Linked DNA regions of Homo sapiens: region 1 is linked to region 2. The links are contacts of gene promoters, found by promoter capture Hi-C in human tissues and cell types (Jung and others, 2019). All regions are on one chromosome and are shown on one strand. Each heading gives the region's core, a stretch centred on a gene start or on the middle of the fragment in contact. The rest is flanking DNA. Distances are from core to core; before and after follow the strand shown.

Region 1 (2,700 bases), core at 46-2,545, 140 kb after region 2:
GAGAGGGACCCCTTTAATCACAGCCTGGTAGATTTAGATAATAGACCATTGGCCACTGTTTGTCTCCCATTTTTCCACTTCCTAGATAGTAGTTGTATTGGGATTACTCTGTCACTCATCAAACATTGTATATTGGAAGTACAGTAAGGGAAGACAAACTTATTAAAAGGTCACCAAAACATCAAGAACATCATCCAGACCTGATAGGGAGAACTGTACTTCACACAAAGTAAGTGGATATTGGCCTGTGTGCAGTAATTATATGGGAGTTTGTGTTATCTCCTGTAAGGGAGGGGCAGGAAGAAAGAGGGTAAGGGGTTCTATATGTGGGAAGATCGGAAGAAGGGTGATACTTGAGGACAAGATAGAAAGTGTATAGGAGAGACAGCTAGCTGCTTACCCAAACTGTATTTTCCTCTTCTTCCAGGGCACACAGTTAAACTATATTTTCCAGGAATTCCTGCAGGTATGAGTGGCCTATGACCGAGTTCTAGATAGAGGAACATCTGAGGAAGACATGTGCCTAGTTCCAAGGCTGACCCATAAAAGCTTCTTACACGTACTGCCCCACAATCTTTCCTCTGCCATGAACTGGATGGCAGTCTCCAAGTAAGGACACCCTTGGAAGCCATGAGTGTCAAAACCTCCATCAGTCTGAGACCATGCATAATTACATGGAAGAGAGCCCCCAACAACCCAACAACCCTCCCATCTCACCAACTTGTAACTCATTAGACTGTTTTAAAAGAAATAAACTTAAATTTTGTTTGAGGATGTTATATATATTGGGGTCTATTTGTTAGAGCAGATAGCCTAATTTAACTACTACAAAGCAAGCTAACTACTACTATTACATGAATCTTCCAAAATCAAAAGGAATTATTTTCTATTTGTAACATATGCAGCAAACAATTAGAATAATTCTTTTGTAAAGAAAAATATGTTTATATGAATATTAAGAGTTTTATTGGCTTTTCTGTTTTCCAAGTGGCTTTTCCCAAAGTATATTTACTTCTAATATCTATAAGATTTATAAAATGGCAGGAGAAATCTAAAATAGGAATGTGTAAAGTCCTTATGTTGTCTAGAAAATGGTAAGAGTATTAATGTTTACTAGGCATTGATAAACCAAAAATGACTATAATAATGTAATTTTAATGTAATCCAATAAAGAAGTAAGAAGAAGAAAAGGAACATAAAACAGGTAAGACAAATAGAAAACAAGCAGGAAGATGGTAGATTTAAACCTAAATATATCAGTAGTTACATGGAAAGTAAATGAAACAATTTCTCCAATTAAAAGCCAAACATAGCCCAGGCACAGTGGCTCATGCCTGTAATCCCAGCACTTTGGGAGGCTGAGGCAGGTGGATCATGAGGTCAGGAGTTCGAGACCAGCCCGGCCAATATGGTGAGACCCCCATCTCTACTAAAAATACAAAAAAATTAGGTAGGCATGGTGGCGTGTGCCTGTAGTCCCAACTACTCGGGAGGTCAAGGCATGAGAATTGCTTGAACCCAGGAGGTGGAGGTTGCAGTGAGCCGAGATCATGCCACTGCACTCCAGCCTGGGTGACAGAGCAAGACTCCGTCTCAAAAACAGACAAAAAAAAGGCAAACATTGTCATACTGGATTAAAGAAAACCTATAGGCTGCTTGCAAGAGACATGATTGAATATACGAAGATATATAAGTTAAAAATAAAAAGATGGAATAAGATATGCAAACACTAAGTCGTCTCAAAAAAATATAAAGCCGGTGAATGGTATCAGAACATATCACCCCATAATATGCCACTTTGCCATGTTGATTATTTTGAGCTGAAGGCAATTGAGAAACAGCAGATGCAGAAAGGGGTCTCTTTCTTACACCTTTATGCCTAAGAAAAGTGCCATCCCTGTACCAGGAATAGAACATTCTTATCACCAGAGTCAAGGAGTTGAAGCCATGATGAATCTGTACAAACAAACCTCACTAAAATAACCCTTATCTCCCATTAGTTTTCTCCATATATTTCTTAGTCACTTTCCCATAATTTACCACTCTTAGCCCAAATCCTTTTTTCCTTTGTATTGTTACATCTCCACAAGTTATTGCTCTGTGTTAAAATAGTATATAAGCCTCCAGTCAATTCATTTATTTGGGGTTTTTATTTCTTGCTATGATGTTTCCTTTGCCATGTAAAAATACTAATATTAAATAAAATTTCTGTGCTTTTTCTCCTGTTAATCTGTCTTTTGTCAGTTTAATTTATAGGTCCCAGGCATTAAACCTAAGAGAGTAAAGAAAAAAAAATTTTTTCTACACTGGTGTAGACTTTTAAGCAAAAAACACCATTAGGGATAAAGAGGGACGTTACACAATGATAAGAAATTCAACACACACAAAAGATAATTCTACATTTATTGGTACCTAACAGAAAAGCCACAAAATATATAAAGCAAAGATTGACAAGATTAAAAGGAGAAATAGACAAATCCACTACCAAAGTAGAAGCTTGTAACTCACCTCAGTCGCTGATGGCACAAGCAAAAAATCAGTAAGGATGTAGAAAATCTGAACCATGTGATTAACAAACTTGACTTAATTGACATAGATAAAACAACATACCCAACAACTTCAAATGTGCATTCTTTTTAAGTACACATGGAACACATAAAAATGATAAATGTTGGGACATATAGTAAATCTCAAATTTCA
Region 2 (2,700 bases), core at 103-2,602:
GAGACCTACAGGTGTGCAGTGCCTGATAGAAACAGTGACCTTCGCCCACCGGCAAAGCTGTCCTCACCAATGTCCTGGTGCCTGGTCATTCACTCATGGGGAAAAGAAGAGCAGAAGTAGAGTGAGGGTAGAAAGCCCCTTCCCCCACATTTTCAAATGTACCTGGACAAGCATCCTTATTCACAGCTGGAAGAAGTTGGATTCAGTAGAATGCCATTTGGAAAACACCGTTCTGAAGTGCCATCCCCTCTGGCCCCTGAATCCTCACCAGCTTCCACCCTCTGCTCACCTTGGGCCCTGGATTCCAGCGCCCCCAGGCTCCCAGCTGCCTCCCTGTCTCTGCCCCATGGTCCGGCCTGGAGTTCTGGTCCCTGGTTGTGTCCTGTGGCCCCATTCTCATGCGCCCTTTGCTTCTGTTTCTTTACCTATGACTTTATACTGATGTAAAGCGAGTCTTCTCGGTCGCTTCTTGTTCTCTGAGGAATGATGAATCAGAATCTAAATGGAAAATCTGGGCAGAGATAGAACCTCCCGCGGGAGCCACCCTGCCCTTCCATGTCTAGATCATCTGGGTTCCAACCTCCATCCTCCTCCAATGAGAAGCTTTTGTTCTCTCAAGATTCCAGTGACTTCTCCGAAGCTTAGGTGTCTCTTCACCCCTGGCTGTTCCAAGGCGGCCCCATAGTCAAGATTCCTTAAACCCTTGCCCCTTAAAATGTTTGCCTTTCTTACCATGCTGGCTCCAGCCTCTGGTCCCAGGGGTGTGGAGAGTTCTCTCTTACTTCTGGCTGATTTCCAGGAAGGCTAAGCACACTCTCCCCAGGTTATAATGCTGAGCATTTTGGTTCTCTCCAGCCCTGGGTCCCAATGTCAGGACCTACCTTAGTCCAGTCCATGCTCTCCCATGGGCCTGAGAGAAGATTTGAGGTTTCTGGCTTTCCCTCCAACCCTCCAACTCCCACCCCAAGCCATGTCAGCAAGGGGAAGGGGCAAACATGGAGTTTCCCCCCCAACTCCCATGTAAACTATGCCCCCTCTTAGAGGGCAGAGCAGCTAAGGACAATTTTGTTTCAAGGACATTTTTTTTGGCTGTGTATTGCACAAACAAGTGGACACCCGGGAGCTGGCCCTGCTCGTCCCCTGGGCCCTCCTTCCCTGGTCCTGCAGGTCTTGCTGCTTGTCAGGCCTCTCCTCCAACCCTCTGCCACATTTCAGAAAAGCTGAGAATCCCTTGGAGTGAAAAAGGAGGAGAAACACAGTGTCCGTAGCCCAGAAGGAGGTTAAATACTTTCACTTCTCTTTTCCCCATTTGGGCGGAGCCCTTTCTGAGTCAGTCTGTCGGCCGACTTCCTGCTTGGGGCCTGGGCAGCCACACTGCACGCAGGCTGGGCCGACTGAGGGGCTCAGAGGCCAGGCTCTGAGGCCCACGCAGGGCCTAGGGTGGGAAGATGGCAGGTGGGGGCGGCGACCTGAGCACCAGGTGAGTCTTTATCTCCCTTCCTTTAACCTTTATCTCTGGCTATATTGCAGCTTTCATGCCTTTAGTTCAGTTTGTGCCTAAGGCTTCACTTTAATCCTTCTTTGCAAGAACATAGGTATGCGATGTTATATAATGAAATGAAAGACAAGTAATGAGGAAATCAGATTTTTTAAACAGGAGCAGGACAGCTGTTGGTGTGAGTTCAACTTGCCATAACACACGTGACTTTCTTGTTTTGGATTTACTGCTCAGCTGACCGGGACACTCTAAACATAGCAGTTGTTGGTGGCTGGGATTAACTATTTCCTCATGATCTGTGAACCCTTTCACCCCTCAGCCTTCCTCTACCTTCAAATATGTCATGTCAAAAAAGGTGCTTTAGAAAATAAACACTCCAGGGTAAACACCTGGCTTACTTTTAAACATCAGACGCTGTGGTCTCACCTGTCCTGGCAAGGGGCCTCTGCCGGCTGTTCCCATGACTGGCTCAGGGTCTGAGTTCTTATTCCATCAACCTTGATCAAAAGAAGGAAAGGGAAGAAAAAGGCCCAGGGTGACAAACGGCTAAATATTTTCATTTTTACCTCAATTTCCTGTCCCAAGATGGGGGATACCTCTGACCAGAAAAGAGAAGGAAATCCTAACTTTTCTCTAGTAGTGAGTTGAGAAATAACATTACTTAATCTTTTAAATTTTTTAATACAAAAGAAATACACTGTACATTATTGTTCATAAAATTTAAAACAGTGGAGAAGTATATTAAGGAAAAAGTCATCTTTGCCACTCAGCCATTCTTGTAGCTTCTCTTCCCAGTCCTGTGAAGAGTCTTGGGCACAGCTTTTCTTATATTTTTCTATGCATTTATATATCTAATGCATTTTTTGTAAATACGTAATTTATGTTCTTGATTTATAATAAATTATATTACATGTGCTAGTCTGCATTTTGCATTTTTACTTATTTTAATAGTGGAAAACTTAGAGATCTTTTAACCTTAATACATATAGATCTGCCTCATTCTTTTTATACATGCTATTCCATAGAATTGATATATGATAATTATTTATTCTCCAATTGAAGGACATTTAGATTGTTTTTAAATTGTTCACATTTACCAATAAGCTATCATAACAATGATTATATATTTCTTTTTGGGTTTTTACATCTAAACAAATATTTATCTTGTCTCTAAACCTTAAAAATGTAATTATTGAGGCAAA

The links. The method cuts DNA at HindIII sites, captures the fragments that hold promoters and counts their contacts. A contact is called where the count stands out against the background at its distance.
Region 1: a fragment that was not itself captured here is called in contact with the fragment with the promoter of SP100 in region 2 in 1 of the 25 tissues and cell types used here (spleen).

Annotation. Positions count from the first base shown.
Region 1 is chr2:230,557,430-230,560,129 of GRCh38, forward strand. No RefSeq gene overlaps it. Among named protein-coding and RNA genes, the nearest start is that of LINC01907, 140 kb to the right of the region's middle. The HindIII fragment of the contact is 4,770 bases long and covers 1-2,700 here.
Region 2 is chr2:230,414,849-230,417,548 of GRCh38, forward strand. SP100 (SP100 nuclear antigen) reads left to right here and starts at 1,353. Exons shown (of 29, transcript NM_001080391.2): 1 at 1,353-1,480. The coding sequence starts at 1,449. RefSeq lists an enhancer at 1,000-1,519. The HindIII fragment of the contact is 8,532 bases long and covers 1-2,700 here.